5 separate regions of the Homo sapiens genome follow, and all the other regions are linked to region 1. Evidence: promoter capture Hi-C in 16 types of primary human blood cells and fetal thymus (Javierre and others, 2016). All regions are on one chromosome and are shown on one strand. Each heading gives the region's core, a stretch centred on a gene start or on the middle of the fragment in contact. The rest is flanking DNA. Distances are from core to core; before and after follow the strand shown.

The links. Contacts are between HindIII fragments. The CHiCAGO score rates a contact against its expected background, and 5 or more counts as called.
Region 2: a fragment that was not itself captured here is called in contact with the fragment with the promoter of FOXL1 in region 1 in 7 of 17 cell types (M0 macrophages, M1 macrophages, M2 macrophages and 4 more); the score reaches 12.2 in M0 macrophages.
Region 3: a contact is called between a fragment that was not itself captured here and the fragment with the promoter of FOXL1 in region 1, in 3 of 17 cell types (erythroblasts, M1 macrophages and M0 macrophages). The highest score is 5.7, in erythroblasts.
Region 4: a contact is called between a fragment that was not itself captured here and the fragment with the promoter of FOXL1 in region 1, in 1 of 17 cell types (endothelial precursors). The highest score is 8.1, in endothelial precursors.
Region 5: a contact is called between a fragment that was not itself captured here and the fragment with the promoter of FOXL1 in region 1, in 1 of 17 cell types (endothelial precursors). The highest score is 7.7, in endothelial precursors.

The regions. Positions count from the first base shown.
Region 1 is chr16:86,576,768-86,580,393 of GRCh38, reverse strand. It overlaps FOXL1 (forkhead box L1), which reads right to left and starts at 1,845. Exons shown (of 1, transcript NM_005250.3): 1 at 1-1,845. The coding sequence starts at 1,670. The coding sequence ends at 633. RefSeq lists an enhancer at 364-985. The HindIII fragment of the contact is 3,987 bases long and covers 1-1,975 here.
Region 2 is chr16:87,046,371-87,049,996 of GRCh38, reverse strand. No RefSeq gene overlaps it. Among named protein-coding and RNA genes, the nearest start is that of LINC02181, 9.6 kb to the left of the region's middle. The HindIII fragment of the contact is 1,058 bases long and covers 1,150-2,207 here.
Region 3 is chr16:87,029,945-87,033,570 of GRCh38, reverse strand. No RefSeq gene overlaps it. Among named protein-coding and RNA genes, the nearest start is that of LINC02181, 26 kb to the left of the region's middle. The HindIII fragment of the contact is 4,197 bases long and covers 1-3,626 here.
Region 4 is chr16:86,888,839-86,892,464 of GRCh38, reverse strand. No RefSeq gene overlaps it. Among named protein-coding and RNA genes, the nearest start is that of LINC02181, 170 kb to the left of the region's middle. The HindIII fragment of the contact is 1,667 bases long and covers 739-2,405 here.
Region 5 is chr16:86,850,162-86,853,787 of GRCh38, reverse strand. No RefSeq gene overlaps it. Among named protein-coding and RNA genes, the nearest start is that of LINC02188, 130 kb to the right of the region's middle. RefSeq lists an enhancer at 2,926-3,426. The HindIII fragment of the contact is 1,818 bases long and covers 1,010-2,827 here.

The DNA.
Region 1 (3,626 bases), core at 596-3,095:
GGTGGTTATCAGCTTCTATAGCTGAACATTGGTCATAAATCCTCATCGGGCCCTACATCTCTCAGAAAACCTGAAAACCCGGGGTCACCCCCGGCACCTCCACAACTTCAAGTCAGGAACAAACCCAGCTGTGACCACCCACCACCCAGATGGGCTCAAAACCAAGGCCTGAGCCACACGGCAACAGCGAAGCAGGCGACGGTCATACGGGGGTCCCCGGTCGAAAGGACCTCAACTGCACCTGTAAGGCCTGCCTTGGGTGGTCTGCGGGCCCTTGCATGCCCGGGACTCGCAGGACCTGCGGTGGGCGGCTGAAGACCACACTCCATTAGACAGGTCAAACGTCAAGGAATCTCCCGCGGTGGAGGTCCCTGCAGGGCCCACGTGCGGTGCCCACGACCCCGCGGGGATCTTTTAAGTCTCCGTAGCTGCTCCCAGTTGCTGGGAAAAGTTTGCTTCGGAGAAGGCAGGCGAGCGCGCCCACCTGCGCGCAATGGTTGGTAACACTTCCCTGAACCCACAGGCCGACCCAGGCAAAGATCATTTTAAAATCCTCCGCCGGTGGGAGCTGTGGCCTTTCGCTCAGCGGAGGCTCAGGCTGGGCCGGGAGAAGAACCGTGCCATTGTTTGCTTTACTGGAAGTGGAGTACCGTGTCGGGAACCTGCAGGGGGAAATAAGAGAGGAAGGGGATCCCGAGCTGGTAAAAGCCGCCCTGGACATGCGGGTCGAGCATCAGGGAAGCGTTGAAAGGCGGACGGAGGCTGGAGGAGGCGGCCAGGAGCGAGGCACCCAGACGGCCGCCGGGCCCAGGCTTGGCACCCCCTAGGAGTTCGTCCCCTGAAGGCGGCTTCTGGCCCTGCTTTCCCGCCAGGATGCTGTCTATGCTGAAGCTCTTGGACTTGTCGGAGCTCTTCGGAGAGCTGCGGGAGGCGGGGCGCAGAGGGGACCCCGGGCCGTCCCCTGTGCGCGCTGCCTGGCCGACCGCCACGGCCGCTGCGCCCTGGGCAGCGTCACCAGCGTCCTCGTTCGGGGACGCGGTCCCCGGCCAGTGGAGGGGCGCCGGCGGAGAGGGGCCGTCCAGGAGGGGCGAGGGGCCCGCGGGCGCTGCCTGCAGGCGGGAGATTGCGGGGCCCGAGCCCCCTGCCCCGCTCCCCGCCTCCGGCTGCGCCTCCGCGCTGCGCTGGTGCGTCTCGGCGCGGGGCCTCTTGGCCTCCGGGGCCCCGGGGCCCGGCTTGGGCTTCCTCTTCCGGCGCCGGTAGTTGCCGTTCTCAAACATGTCCAGGCAGCGGGGGTCCAGCGTCCAGTAGCTGCCCTTGCCCGGCCGCCCTTTCTCGCGGGGCACCTTGACGAAGCAGTCGTTGAGCGAGAGGTTGTGGCGGATGCTGTTCTGCCAGCCCTGCCGGTTGTCGTGGTAGAAGGGGAAGCGGTCCATGATGAACTGGTAGATGCCGTTGAGCGTGACCCTCTGCTCGGGCGCGTCCTGGATCGCCATGGCGATGAGCGCGATGTAGCTGTAGGGAGGCTTCTGCGGGGTCTCGGCCCGGCCCGAGGCAGCTAGAGCAGCCGCGGGGGCGAAGGCCAGAGGGAGGCCGGGTCTCTCGGGACCGTACAGATACAGCATGGGCGAGGCGGCCAGGGCAGGCAGCCGGGGATCGAAGAGGTGACTCATGGCAAGCGAGAGCCTGCGCTGCGCTCCCCGCAACGCAGGAGACCCGGGCGGCCTAGGCACTGCGCCCCGCGCCGCAAGGGCCCTCCCGGGGAGCCAGCCGTGCCTCTGCCTCTGGCTCTGCCGCTCTCCCCGGCCGCTCCGTGCTCTGTCCCTTCTTCATGGCTTTAAAAATGTTAAATAATTGTTGTAAGTTTGCTGTTATATGTTGACTTAGCCCTGGAAAATAAATTGTCTATGATAAACAGTCCTTGTGTTCTCAGCCCACCCACATTAATTAAAATTTCATTGCTGAAAAACTCCAAGCTTTTCCCTCCACGTGTCTTTTTGATACCAGCCAATCGGTTTTGGGGCTATTCCTTCATTTGTTTATAGAATTAGTCTGTTGATAAGTCCGCCCACCCAAGTTGAATCAAGCTGTGTTTATTTGGAAAAATTTCCGGGCACCCAATATATAAACGCACTGATCTGATGTTTGAAATATCACGTCCACCCCTTGACGCTGTAAGCACACACAGTCAGTGAGGCAGGATGTAGACTGCGGTGGCTCAGAGCAGGGTCTGCTGAGCCAGGAAGGAGAGGTGGAGATGGGGGTGGGTGTGCAGGGATGAGTTTTACGCTGGCCTGGGGGAGCCCCATAACGCCAGGGCCTCCCACAAAAGGTCTTTTCTTCTCCCAGGCTTAACCGGAGATATCGAGATGCCACAGTCTAGTAAAACACTTTCTGAGGTCCTAGGAACCTTTTAGATTGGGGCAGGGAGAGTATCTAAGAAGCCTGAGTGTCTGCTGAGAAGGGGATGCGGCCCTCCCTGGAAAAACAGGTGGCAGACCCAGTAGGAGGTGGCACTCTCTAGGGACCTGCTCTCCCACACCCTCCCTTCCAGGGCTCTCCGGAAATCGGAGGGAAAGTGGACTCTGGGAGCCCAGTCTCTCTGGAAGGGAAGGCCTAAGGCACTGGGGGCCTGGGGAAGAGCTCATGGTCCACAGCTCCATTGAGGAAGGTTTCAAAATAAACCCATTTAGAGAACCGGGGGCAAAAGTAAGGTCCTCCTGATGGGGCCAAGGTTGCAAGAGAGGAACACCATAAAAGGAGGCCGTGGCAGCTGGCGCGGGAGGCCTGGTATTTGTGAATGTGGGTCTCCAGCTTTATATTCTGGGCTTTCCTGTTTATAACAAGGAGGGGGTTATAACAACTTTACAAGTGCATGCAGCTGGCCCGTGATTACATTAGGCATTTGGGAAGCCTGCTTGCTCTCCCTGTATCCACCCACCCTGGGGTGTACGCGGCCCTCCACCCCCATCTCATTTTACATTTTCCCACATCACTGTTTGAATAAAAAATCCTGAATCATGCTGATTTCGAAGGGGGCCTCTCCTCCCCACTCCACCGGTTAGGGTAAGGGTAGAGGCACCTAGTGTGACTACTTCCTGTTTATGACCACCCCCTGAATATTAAAACACACACACACTGTCACACACACACCCACACACACACACACACATTCGGATAACTGGCGTCTCATTGAGCAAATCGTGTGAGCATGTCAAAGAGATGAGGGAAGGGGGAGGATGGCAGGTGGGTGTAGAAATGGCCCACTGCCAGTGGGCCAGGAAGGAGGGAGAGGCACCGAGGGCACTTACAGGGGTAGGGGGAGTGTCTGCCGCTGCCACACCCGGCTGAGGATGTGAGTGCCCAGGTAGCCTCTGAACACGGAAACGTGGCGGGCATCCTTTTTCAAAATGAGAAAATCAGAAATAACCCGTGTGTTTGGGGTTCCTGGGTATCCAGCCCATGGAATAAGTAGACCGCAGGGGAGCGGGTAAATTTAAAATACCAAAAAGGAAGTCGCAGGAAGGGTGGAAAAACCGGCCTGGGTACCGGCACTGCCTGCGGGAGCGACAGGCCAGTCCCTGGGACACCTCGGGCCTCCCTCCGCGGCCCTGCTCCTCTAACGTGGG
Region 2 (3,626 bases), core at 429-2,928, 470 kb before region 1:
TCTTCTATATTTCCTGTCAAAGAACTTCTAACAGAGGAGGATCCCCTTTCCAGGAGTGTGGGCCATAGACCAAAACCTGCCCAAGCACCAGCGTTTGGGCATTTCTTTATGTGAAAAGTCTGAGCCCATTTGTTCCATATTCCTGACTATATACACATTTATTGTTGAAAGCCATTGCTTCCTCTTCCCCCACTCTTATTTTGGTAAAAATGATAATATTGGATCATCATGTTGATCTTGGGTCTTGATATGGTTTTGCTGTGTCCTCACCCAAATCTCACCTTGAATCGTAGCTCCCATAATTCCCTTGTGTTGTGGGAGGGACCAGGTGGGAGATAACTGAATCATGGGGGTGGTTTCCCCCATACTGTTCTCATGGTACTGAATAAGTCTCATGAGATCTGATGGCTTTATAAGGGGAAACCCCTTTTGCTTGGTTCTCTGATTCTCTCTTGTCTGCCACCATGTAAGACACTCTTTTCACTTTTTGCCAAGATTGTGAAACCTCCCCAGCCACGTGGAACTGTGAGCCATTAGACCTCTCCCCAGCCACGTGGAACTGTGAGCCATTAGACCTCTCCCCAGCCACGTGGAACTGTGAGCCATTAGACCTCTCCCCAGCCACGTGGAACTGTGAGCCATTAGACCTCTTTTTCTTTGTAAATGACCCAGTCTCGGGTATGTCTTTATCAGCAGCGTGAAAACAGACTAATATAGGTCTTCTCCGAGCCTCTTGTTTGAAAAGCCAAATGGATCTGAAGGTGGTAACATGAAGTGCAATCTCCTCTTCCTCAGTATCAGTCATTTGCACCTTAGCAAGAATGGGACACAATCTTAAGGGCAAGTTTTCAATGACAACACGAGATGAGACACCCTAAAACCCAAGGTCCCTGTGCAGGTCGGGAGAAGGGAATACTGACCTCTAAAAAGAGTCAAATGTAACGCAGAGTCGGAATAAGTATATTTGTCAGTTTCTCTCTGGGGTCTTGGCCTCCCCATCACTCTCTGCTGTGGGAGCTGCTGTTACTAGAATCCTCTTGGCAAAGATTGGGGACGAGAGGCTTCCATGGAAACTTCCGTCCCCGGCCAGGCGCTCAGTGTTCGTCTCTCCTTGGTTTCCTTCTGCTCCAACCCAGGGCAGAGGAAGCTTCTGATGTGCTGCTCTTTTGTACCTGCCCATTTTCACAGGTTTGTCAGAGCATGAGAAGTATCAGTGCCTGGGCTCTTCTTAAAATATTTGGACTTTTCCAAGCCCTTACACAAACCTTTAGCTTGGCTTAGTAGGTACAACATGTCTACTGTGTATTAATAAAGTTTTTATCAAATTGTTTTTAAAAATCCAATGGAATCTTGGTTGTATACATTCAGAGTGTCTGCTTCCTCACTTAGTTTCAAATCCCATTCCCACTACTGGCCAGCTGTGTGACTTTGGGTAAGTTAGTTAACCTCTCTGTGCCACAGTTTTCTATAAATGGGGGAGAAAAACAGTGCTTAGGTTATTGTGAGGATTAATAAGTGAGTATGTGTGAAGTGCTGGAAATGGTTCCTGGTACATGTGACTTCCATAACTATTGGAGGGGTTTGTCCCCATCCCTGGAAAGAACAATGTGATTTTCAAAACAGACACTGGACTGTGATCCGTTGCAGTGCGAGACCACTCTGCCGTGTGCTGAAAGCCTCACTATAGTAACTCCAGCTCACGGAAACTCAAAGGGGTGAATTGACAGACAGTCACATACGGGTTTTTGGCAGCAGGTTGATCCCCATGTGGGGTGCCCCCCTGTTTGTGCTGATGGAGAAACAGTGCCTCCCGGGGGGCTGCCCCGGGGCAGGCAGGCCGCGGACAAAGCTGTAGGGGGACATGATGGGGTCTGAGCCTCTAGCTTGCTGTTTCCAGAAACAGCATGCTTTGAGCTTGCAGAACTGTCTGGCCCCCCAAATGCACTTGGGTCTCAGGGCCTCTGGGCCTGTGATCTCCCTAGGCAGGCCCCAGGGGCCTGTGTGCAGGGCCCCTCTGTTTGGGGTGGGACGCATGTCATTTGTCAGTGGCATGGGGTGACTTGCTGGGCACCCCTTGCAGCGAGCTTGCGGAGTTCAAGGCTGGGCGCACCTCAGCTCTCATTATCAGATCTAATTGTGGGCTCGGATTTCACAAATCGGGGCCTGTGCAGGTGGAGGACAAGCGGCAGAGGTCATGCCTAAAAGCTTATTAAGCTGCCGGTGTGAAAGGTAAGGCCATCTGGTTGCCATTTGACAACTTAAGTGGTAATTACACCATTTGGCACAGGAATTAGTGAGAGCTGGGGCTTGAACTGTGGCAGGGACCACTTTTTTTTCTGCAGGAGGGTGGCTTGGGGCAGTCCCGATCCTAGCAGCTCACAGTCCTAGCCGCTGTTTGTGGCTTACAGGTTCTCTGCCCAGCTCCTTGGATGGGCAGGCTTGATAACCAGGAACACCTGCCTTTTCAGCTCTCCTGTCCAGGGAAGGGAGGTGGGCAGCGGGGGCAGCTTCCAGCAACATTCCACCCCAGCAATATGGAAGTGCTTAAGCAGGGTTTGCACCAGGCAGGGTAGCTGAGATCTGAACCTTTAAATTACAGCCATTCCCGGGCTGAGGAAAAGTAAATAAACAGTTCACAGCTGCAGCCAACTCAACACAGAAACGGGCTATCTCTTCTGATTGCAGGGCAAGTAATTAAGTGAGAAATGTGAGCCCTGCAGTCAGGGTGAGATGGTAAAGGTCTGGAGCAGTAAGTCCACCCAACTCCAGAGACCTTCCGATTAACCCTCGCAGAGCCAGGAGGGGAGAGGGACGCGCAGGCTTGGAGGTGAAGCCCAGATGAGGGGCACTGGCTTTGTGATTGTCAAAAGCCAGCTAACTATAAATGACCTTACCTCGCTGTGCTTGGCTGAGGGAATACGCTGAGGGTGAGAATCCGCGTTCTCAGCAGTCCACCCATGGACGCACGTCTCAACAGGTACTGTCTCTGTTTACTCATTATAGGCTGAATTTTGTTCCTGATAAATTCCTGTGTGGAAGCTCTAGCCCCGGGCCCTCAGAATGTCACCATGTTTGGAGATAGGGTCTTTAAGGAGGTGCTTAACTTAAAGTGAGTCATTGGGCCCTAATCCAATGACTGGTGTCCCCATAGAACAGGGGATGAGGACACAGACACATACAGAGGGATGACCATATGAGAACACAGGGAGAAGATGGCTGCCTACAAGCCAGGGAGGGAAGCCTCGGGAGGAACCAGCCCTGCTGGCACCTGATCCTAGATGTTCAGCCTTGAGAATGATAAGAAAGTGCATATCTGGGGTTTGAGCTGCCTGGTCTCACGACGTGGTTATGGCAGCCCGGGAAAATCAGTTCACCCAGCTCTGCCTGCATGCAGAGAGCCACGTGTGCTTTAGAGTAAGGGCTGACAACGACGTGGTTCACGGGCTGTACCAGGGCCCAGCGAGGTGTGTGTGTGACACGCAGCTTCTCACACCAAAGCGGTAGCATTCCCATTTCACAGATGGGGAAACTGAGGCCTGGGGAGGTCAAGCAAGTATTCCAGGGTCATGTAGCTGGAATCTGTGGACACAGCAGGTGTTCTCAAACCTGGCTTCACAGTGCAGTGG
Region 3 (3,626 bases), core at 555-3,054, 450 kb before region 1:
ACAGCCAGGGTTTGAATCTTGGCCATGTTCTACTGAGTGAAAGACTGCAGAGAAGCCACTTAACCTCTCTGAGCCTTGGTCTTCTCTTGTGTAAAATGGGAATAAAATAGCACCTTCCCCCCATGGGCTGCTGTGGGGCTCACAGGGGATGACACGTTTACTGTTGGCCTCAGGGCTGGCACCCCGTGATGGGATTAAAATGCAACTCCCTTATGTAACTCGAGATTATTTTTACTCTTGAATTTATCGTGTTCGCCAAGGCAAAGGAGAGGGCCCGCCCGGTCCCTTTTACCATCCCCCGCCTGCCTTTTTGTGACTTGTTTTTCCTTTCAAGGGTGGTCTCTGTTCACTCCACTCTGATGTCACTGCCTAAAAATGTCGGGTCCTGGCTTGGGTGGTGGAAGTGGCATGCAGGGCGATCTCTCCCTGGCCAGCCCTGTGCCCCCCGGGGCCGCCCTGGCGTGGGCTCAGGAGTTCCAGGGCTCTTTCCCAGAGGGATTTATGATTCCTTCGGCCGGGGCTGGATTGCTCACTCCAGAAATAAAGCAAAGTTATGGAAAGCTGAGGCCATAGCCCTTACTTTTTTCTTCCCTTATTCATAAGATTAATGAAGCGACAGAAGAATCAGGTGCAGGCAAAGTGTCCGGACTGAACTGGGCTCCGATGTGAAGTTGTCATCAAACGGCTGTGGGGCTGGGGCCTGTCACTGCGACCTCGCTGGGCCTCAGTTTCCTCACTTGGGAGAGAGGGATTTGCACCAGCAGACATGAAAGGCGTCCTCTGCTTCACTGATTCTATTTTAGGCAGGTGAAGTGAGTGTTTCCAAAGTGTGGGACTCAAGAGGTCTCAGGTGACACGGGCATGATTATTTCGAGCTTCCACTTAAATAATTCTGCAGGACTGGAACTGAAGTAGGGCAGGTAAGATGCTTGCCTTGGGTGAAAATTTAAGAGGACATTAAAAACCCCCATAATCATTGAGATACATAATAATTTAATCCAATGTAAAACAATCAAAATGCAAAAATATTCCCGATGAACAAAATACTGAAATTTTGAACAGAGGTAGCATCCATATTATTGATGTTTTCCCTTCTGCCTCCAGCTCTAATATGGCCTGGCATATGCAAATATGCATTATTGAAACATTTCGAACACATTGCAACCCTCGACTTCACAGGTGCCACTGCCTACAAAATGGCCACATTCAAGTTTAAAAAGTGAGTTTATTAAAAGGAGAAAAGGAAAGGCTGTCTAGTGTATGGTTAATGGTAAATAGATACAGCAAAATATTATGACAATTGGAAGAAAAAGAGTATTGTGGGGGTGTGAGCTGGTGGGAGAGGGATGAGGTAGACTGCAAGCAGCTCTCTAACACCAGTCACCAGTACCTGGGAGGCTGTTTTTGTACCACAGAAGTCTGTATTAGTCTGTTCTTGAACTGCTATAAAGAAATGCCTGGGCTGGGTGTGGTGGTTCACACCTGTAATCCCAGCACTTTGGGAGGCCGAGGGCGGCAGATCACTTGAGGTCAGGAGTTGGAGACCAGCCTGCCCAACATGGCGAAACCCCATCTCTACTACAAATACAAAAAATTAGCCAGGCATGGTGATGGGTGCCTGTAATCCCAGCTACCTGGGAGGCCGAGGCAGGAGAATCGCTTGAACTTGGGAGATGGAGGTTGCAATGAGCCGAGATTGCACCATTGAACTCCAGCCTGGGCGACAAGAGCAAAACTCGGTCTCAAAAAAAAAATTAATAATAATAATGCCTGAGGCTGGGTAACTTATAAAGAAAAGAGGTTTAATTGGAAACTTACAATCATGGCGGAAGGCGAAGGGGAAGCAAATATATCTTACATGGCTGGAGCAGGAGGAAGAGAGAGAGGGGAGGGCCCCACACGCTTGTAAACGACCAGATCTCGTGAGAACTCTATCATGAGAACAGGACTAGGAGGATGGTGCCAAATTATTCCAGAGAAACCACCCCCATGATCCAGTCACCTCCCCGCAGGCCCCACCTCCAACAATGAGGATGACATTTGATGCAAAGTGTAGACAGGGACACAGACATCAAACCATATTATGGTCCACCCCTTTGACCTCAGTTAACTGGTCCCGGAGGTCACCCCACCCCCACTAGTATGATCAGAGCCTCCTGTGGGACCCAGGCTGCGCTGATGTCTTCATGGGGAGATGTGCACACGGGCGTCCTGAAGACTGCCCCTCTTGGCTCTGCGGATGGAGAAGCAGAGAAGGCAGAGAGAGGGCTGGATGCAGAAGCAGTAATTTGGGGTGGGCAACGGCCTTCCAGTTCCTGCTGCAGCCTCATCCTGGACTTCCACAGACACCCTGAGTCCTCATCACTACCCCCTCCTTTGGTATATGCCTGTTGGATTGAGTTTTTTCCTTTTAAAATGAAACAGCCCAACCAATGCAATGAGGAAGAAAAAGATAACCTACTTGGGTATTAGGGAGCAAAATCTGCAAGGTGATTTTTTTCATCTAATGTTCCCCAACTGTGGTTACATATTAGAAACATCAGAAGAACTTTTAAAAATACAGATGTCTGGGTCCCCCCAGATTCATTAAGTCAGAATCTGCTATGGTCTGAATGTTTGTGCCCCCCATTAAATTCATGTTGAGACCTAATCTCCAGTGCAATTGTATTAAGAAAGAGCTTTTAAGAGGTGATGTGGTCATGGAGGCAGAGCCCTCAAGAATGGGATTAGTGCCCTTATAAAAGCGGCCTGAGGGAGGCTGGGTGCAGTGGCTCATGCCTGTAATCCCAGCACTTTGGGACGCCAAGGTGGGAGGACTGCTCGAGGCCAGGACTTCAAGACCAGCCTGGGCAACATGGGGAAACCCCGTCTGCATTAAAAATACAAAAACAAATTAGCCAGCTGTGGTGGCATGCCCCTGTAATCCCAGCTATTCAGGAGGCTGAGGCATGAGAATTGTTTGAACCCGGGAGGTGAAGGTTGTAGTGAGCTGAGATTGTGCCACTGCACTCCAGCCTGGGTGAGACTCTGTCTGAAAAAAAAAAAAAAAAAGAGGCCTGAGGGAGTTTGTTTGCCTCTTTTTCCTGTGAGGATGCATAGAAGGCACTGTCTGTGAGGAATAGACCTTGAATCTGCCAACACCTTGATCTTGGACTTCACAGCCTCCAGAACTGTGAGCAATACATTTCTTTTGTTTATAAATGGCCCAGTCTAAGGCATTTTGCTACAGCAACCTGAATGGACTAAGACAGAATCTCTGGGCAGTGGGGCCCAGGCACTTGCATTTTATTATTATTTTTTGAGACAGTTTCGCTCTTGTTGCCCAGGCTGGAGTGCAATGGCACCATCTTGGCTCACTGCAACATCCACCTCCTGGGTTCAAGCGATTCTCCTGGCTCAGCCACCTGAGTAGCTGGGATTACAGGCGCCTGCCACCACGCCTAGCTAATTTTCTGTATTTTTAGTAGAGATGAGGTTTCACCATATTGGTCAGGCTGGTCTCAAACTCCTGACCTCAGGTGATCCACCCACCTCAGCCTCCCACAGTGCTGGGATTACAGGTGTGAGCCACCACTCCTGGTGGCATTTACATTTTAAAAATGTTTCTTAGGCAACTCTAACCACAG
Region 4 (3,626 bases), core at 323-2,822, 310 kb before region 1:
TGAGCAATCAGCTGGTGTGATGTTCATCCATTTTGAATAAATACATGAATGATTGCATACGTGTAAAGCAGCTGGTTTCTTAACTAACTCTTTGGCTTACTCTCCAAATAAATGTTTCTTAACCTTCTTAAACAGATATCCCCTTTGAGAAACGCAGAAATACATCCCATATTATATGTGATTTATACATCCACTCCCCCAAAGGGCTATGGAGAATATGTCCTCACTAACCATTGTGATCCCACCTAAAAATCTCCACCTGCCAAAAACACTATGTTACTCTGTGTTTTCAAGTTATACAGAGAAAAGTTATTTTCCCTTACATTATATAATATCATAAAATGGAATGTTTGAAACTTTTTAGACTTTAAATCTAACTGGATTGCTGTCCGTCCTACATCTCCACTCTAGTGGTTCAAATTGCCCGCCCTGAAGGTGGGGGAGTGCATGGTCCCTTCCCAGCGAGCACCTCACGCCTAAAGCTTTAGGATGGGGAACCCACCCATGGCCTCCTGAAGCATTAGGATGGGGGAACCCGCTCATGGCCTCCTAAAGCTTTAGGATGGGGGAACCCGCCCATAGCCTCCTAAAGCATTAGGATGGGGAACCCGCCCACGGCCTCCTAAAGCATTAGGATGGGGAACCCGCCCACGACCTCCTAAAGCTTTAGGATGGGGAACCCGCCCACAGCCTCCTGAAGCTTTAGGACGGGGAACCCACCCATGGTCTCCTAAAGCTTTAGGATGGGGGAACCCGCCCACGGCCTCCTTGTGCAGGTGCCTGACTTTGGTGCACCATTGAACCTTGCAGTCACTGTTCTGGGATATTCCCCAGGAAGCTGGGCTCTAGGGCCAAAAGAGCTGGTTTACTCATGGGAACAGGCCTCAGGGATCGGCACGCAGTCCCAGTGCCACCGCTCTGCACCCCATGCTTCTCCCACGTAGAATAAATGCCAAGCCGTGGAAAGGGAAAACAGAAAACAGGGACAGCCGCCACCCAAAATGCTCAACTGCAAATGAAATAAATCATGCATGTTCTCAAAACACAACAGAAAAAGGCGTTTGGGGTGAACTGGGCTGTTTATCTCCATCCCTTCTGTGTGTTTGGTGATAAAGATCTTACTTGGAAACTTTCACAGAGATTAGGACACATTTTCCAGTTCACAATGACAGATATTAGAAAATCGTTAGCTGACTTGGCTACGAGACAGCACAGGAAGGGTTTCCTCTTCATTTTTAGCCATAGTAATAATAGCATCAGCCAATTTGAGAAAAGATCAAATGGAATAGCTGATTCGAATTATCCAACGTAATGGTCCAATGTGCTAAATTAACTGTGAAATCTTCTAATTTTATTCAGGCGTGTAAATAACATTTTTGTGCCTAAGTACATCCAATGGCATGTTTTCAACTAGTTTTCAACAGGCATTCTACATTCAGAGAGGCCCACATTACTAGGGTTCAGAACCCAGGCTCTGGGACCAGATGCTTGGGTTCAAATCCTGCCTCTGCCACTTCCTGCCTGGGTCAGCCTCTAGCAACTTCCTCTCTCTGTGCCTCCGTCTGCTTCTTGGAACAAAGGGAGTAAGGATCATAGTGCCCTCACTGTGCATGGGAGGCTCTGTGGGATTTTGATTTTCACAAAATCGCTTAGTTTCCAACACATGGAAAGTACATAGTAGAAGCTAGAGATGATGGGGAGGAGGAGAATGGTATTTCCTTAATGTACACTGAGCTGTTTGCACCCATAGGTGCCATACAAGTGTGAAACACACACGGGTTCAATTAATTCTCCCAGAAACATTGTTGTTCCTATCTTTTGATCGGAATAGATGAGGTCTAGGGAAGTTAGGAGACTGGAGAGCGGTTGGACCCAGGCCTGTTGGGATCGACTAAGGCCTCTCATGGCCAGTGTTGGGATAGAGATGGACAGGATGTGACCCCTGACTCTAGGGGTCCATGATCCCCCAACAGGCAGGAGGGTACAGATGATCATAAGACAACGTTCTAGTGCTGGCATCCGGGATAGCAGGCGTCATCATTTGAACCCACAGACACCCTGTCATATGTTGGGAGCAGAGACTCTCACATTCATGCAATTAAAGATGTTTTAATTGGCCTATTGGTTGGTTCCAGGCATGAGAATCATCATAGCGCCTGTGAACTGGGTCCAGAAATGAGTCACCATCTCACCTGTTGGCTGGGCACTGGTAGGAGAGTCACATCTCCAACTTTTGACTGCGTTCAGGTGTGAGATTCAGGACCTCACCAGTGGGATGTGTCCACGTGTGAGGGTGACCAACTCCACATGTCTGTGCCCTAACTTAAGTTTATCTACTAATGACTACTTAATTTGCCAATGAGAAGACCAGGTTTCAGTTATCATTTGCAGTCTCAGGTAAAGCTTTGCTTGTTTTTAACTCAATTTCTTCTTTTAATTGACACAATAATTGTACTCATTTAAGCTTAAGTGAGGTTATTGTCCTCAATAGCTCTTAACACAATTTACATCGTAAGTCTTTAGTCATTAGACTTATGATGCTCTTTGATTATAATGAATGTCCCTAATAACATCAAGTGGTTTTGCATCATGTATTTAACATCTATCTATCAATCTATCTATCTATCTATCTATCTATCTAATCTATCATCTATCTCTATCATCTGTCTATATCATCTATGTATCCATCTCTATCATTTGTCTATCTCTATTATCTATTTCTATCTCCGTCTCTCCATCCATCCATCCATCCATCCATCCATCCATTCATTCATCCATTCATCCATCCATCCATCCATCCATCCATCCATCCATTCATCCATCCATTCATCCATCCATCCATCCATCCATCCATCCATCCATTCATCCATCCATTCATTCATCCATCCATTCATTCATCCATCCATCCATCCATTCATCCATCCATCCATCCATTCATCCATCCATCCATCCATTCATCCATCCATTCATTCATCCATCCTTTCATTCATCCATCCATCCATCCATCCATCCATCCATCCATCCATCCATTCATCCATCCATTCATTCATCCATCCATTCATCCATCCATCCATCCATCCATCCATCCATCCATCCATTCATCCATCCATTCATTCATCTATTCATCCATCCATTCATTCATCCATCCATTCATCCATCCATCCATTCATCCATCCATTCATCCATCCATCCATCCATTCATCCATCCATTCATTCATCCATCCATCCATTCATCCATCCATCCATCCATTCATCCATCCATCCATCCATTCATTCATCCATCCATCCATTCATCCATCCATTCATCCATCCATCCATCCATCCATTCATCCATCCATCCTTACATCCATCCCCAGCCTCCTGCTAAAGATTAGCAGACACTTGTTAAATAAACAAACAGATAGAAAACCGCAGTCCACAAAGGCACCCTCAATATTTGATTGGTCTTTGACAATGGAGACTTTCAGATACACCCAGGGATTACAGAATCAAATGGTGAAATTGGTTTCGTTTATTTACTGGGGAAGCAAGCCATGCTTGTTATATCAATGAATCATCAGGGCTGGCTCTGTAAGACTATTTTAAAATCCAAACCTGCTTCTGAAGATAAAGGTTTGCTGTCCCTA
Region 5 (3,626 bases), core at 669-3,168, 270 kb before region 1:
AAAAATTTTTTTGAGCAGACAGGGTCTCACTATGTTGCCCAGGCTGGTCTCAAACTCCTGGGCTCAAGTGATTCTCTCGCCTCAGCCTCCCAACATTTATGTTGGGATTACAGGCGTGAGCCACTGAGCCTGGCCAAAGCCTTGCAGCTTTAATGCTGCGGGAGTTGTAACCTTGACAACAAAATTGAACAATTTTCATTTTTCCTTTGTGATTTATCTATTTTAAACACTTTTGCCCCCCTAAACAAGGAAACTGGCCTCTGAATTCTAGAAATGGAACATATACATTTGCCACCCCCATGCCTCTTCCTGTCTCTAATCAGTCCAGTGGGTCCACCCTTTGGAAAATCGTGATGTGTTAGGAGGGCCTGCAGGACATTTTTAGTGCCTGACAACATCCTACCTCTTCCTCTCCCTATAGGATTGTGTGATATGCACCTTGTTCAATACTTAACATTTCAGTTAATTTTTTAAGTTTATTTTTTATTTTTTGAGATGGAGTCTCGCTCTGTCACCAGGCTGGAATGCAGTGGCGCGATCTTGGCTCACTGCAACCTCTGCCTCCTGGGTTCAAGCGATTCTCCTGCCTCAACGTCCCAAGTAGCTGGGACTACAGGTGCGTGCCACCATGACCAGGTAATTTTTGTATTTTTAATAGAGACGGGGTTTCACCATGTTGGCCAGGATGGTCTCGATCTGTTGACCTCGTGATCTGCCCGCCTCGGCCTCCCAAAGTGCTGGGATTATAGGTGTGAGCTTTTACACAAAGATTTTTGAAATAATTTTGCAAATATTGTGAGCTCTGGGGGTGGGTTAGAGTTGGGACCTCCATCTACACTCTGGCTACGCTTCCTTTCTCCAGGCCCAGGTCAGGCAAGTCTCAAGCACACAGTCTGAAGGCAGCTTCACATTTCTTCTGAACACAGGCTGTCATCCCAGTGCTGGAAGTCAGTGAGATCAAGCTCATCTGCGATTCTTGGAGATGCTGAAGCCAAAACAATGCCAAGCTTCTATCTTCCAACTTCATCCCTTCACTTCCACTGGCCCCACAGTGAAAGTACCAAGCTAATGCGCATGGATCAAGTTCCTTCCTCCCCTGGAAACATTAGCTGCCTGAGGGCAGGGGCTTTCACTGTCTCATTCTGTGACACATCACTAGCCTGACTCAACCCATGTTGGTGTTAGCAGTCTGTATCCTGCTCACTAAATCTATTTGGGGAAATTACTGTCCACAACCATCCAATGGCCTTGCTTCTCCTTGGCAGTGATGATGATGTTGGTGATGGTGATGACGATAGTGATGGTGATGGTGTTGATGGTGATGGTGATGGTGATGGTGATGATGGTTATGATGATGATGGTGATGACGGTAATGATGATGGTGATGATGTTGATGATGGTGATGGTGATGATGGTGATGGTGATGTTGGTGATGATGGTGATGTGATAGTGATGGTGACAGTGATGATGGTGATGGTGATGATGATGGTGATGGTGATGGTGGTGATGATGGTGATGGTGATAGTGATGGTGACAGTGATGATGTTGATGGTGGTGATCATGGTGGTGATGATGGTGATGGTGGTGATGATGGTGATAGTGATAGTGATGGTGACAGTGATGGTGGTGATGATGGTGATGGTGATAGTGATGGTGACAGTGATGGTGGTGATGATGGTGATGGTGATGATGGTGATGATGGTGATGGTGATGATGATGGTGATGGTGATAGTGATGGTGACAGTGATGATGGTTATGGTGGTGATGATGGTGGTGATGATGATGGTGATGATGACGATGTTGGCAGTAATGATGATGATAATGGTGATAAGTTTTTTCTTTTTTATTACCATGACCATTACTAGAACTAATGAAGTAAGTTAATCTGTAGTCACAAGGGTTTGCGAACATTTCCAGCAGCAAGACCACTTCTTTTCTATATGTCCTCACCCTAAATTGTGGAAGATGTTATAAAGAAGCTCATTGTCTGTCTCTGATCAGTTTGGGTCCAGGAAGGAAATGCCCTGAGGCAGATGGAAAGAGAAGTCCGTGTGTCCTGGAACGGAGGCTTAGCTGAGGGGGTCAGTGAGAGAGGCCAGCACTTGGAAGCTAAGGAGCACCCCCTGCCCAGCCACTTGGGGTCGGCTCCTCCTTCCCCACACATGGCACACACACCTGCCAGCTGGCCTTTGCTTTGCCAGCCTTTGTCCTGAAATGCCCTTTGTCCTTTCCGCCAAATCATCCTGCAGGTTGAAACTAGGTCCAAGTGCATCGAGCTGTCACCAGGTGCCTAGAACTGTCCCATTTCATCCTCTCAATAACTCTATGACATAGGGAAGGTAGGCACATGACCTCCATTTCACAGATGAGGAAAGTGAGGTTTCCAGAAGGGAATTCATTTGTCCAAAGTCACCCTGCTAATATTCAGTAGACCCCACAGTCCCCTCTCCCCATGCGCTTTTTGAGGCACCTTTAGGTTTCTTGGAACCGAGTTCAAAAACCACTGACCTTGTTTCTCTCTTATGGGCTTTTCCAGCCTGTGATGTGGTTATTTTTACAACTTTGGTCCTCTCTTTTGGTCCTGAGATGGTAAGACGTGGATGAAATTCAACACACCCTGTACCCAATAGGGCTCACCAGTGGCTTTGAAGGCAAAATGTTTTCTTTCGTAAATCTAGAATTTAGAAAATAAATTCTTCTTCCCCACAGGCAGATGCTGACCCACCCACTAAGGCTGAGGCCAAAGAAAATTCTCCGATGACAAGGCTCTGCAGGTGCCATACGGAGCGAGTGCTTTTCAGGCAGTTGGCGGAGCCCAAAGCAAGCTTCCCCCAGAGCATCCGAAGGGGCCACTTGGCTGCGGTCGCCATCGCGAGAACAACAGGAAACTGAGCAGGGGCTGCTGTCGTCCTGGGCAGGACAGCTCTCCATTTCCCTTCAGGCCTGGCATTGTTTTGCTGATGGAAGAAAAGTGGAATGGGGCGTGATCACACTGCCGGCTCAGCAGCTGGAAAGCTCATGTGTTTGCTTAAATGTGCACAAGTTGAGGTCCCTCTGTGCTGCTGATCCCCACCCCCTCTCACCACAGGGTGTTTTCTGATCACCAAATGTATGTTGGTTAGAAGACTTGGCAGTTCTCTGGCCCCAGAGGTAGAGCTAGAAGTTGACGCAGAGTCTCAAGTGGCAACTCTGTTGTCTATGCTGTCTGTTGGTGATGATGGGCCGGGCGTCCCAGGAGGAAGATGACTTTCCAAGGTCCCTTTCTGAGGCGGGATGGCGCAGGGGAGACACTGGCAAGGAGAATGAGGGTTGGGGGAGCTCCAGGGCTCCTCTGCTCCTGAGTGTCAGTGGAGGGTGGACATTGACCAGACCAAAGAGTCTTTGAAACAGGGTCATGGGCAACCATAACTGCATTCCAAGAGGCCCAAAAGACGGAAGGCCCAGGAGACCCCCAAGAATGAGTGTGTGATGAGCAGCCAGGCCCTAATCACCCAAGTCCTGGCTTTGAGAGGGGAGGGGTTGGGCACATAGTATTTATCAGCATTGTCATTAGATTAGAGCACTAGTTATCCAGTCTCCATAAGGTTAACAATCTCTGGGGAGCTTTCTATAAAATGCTACCTCCC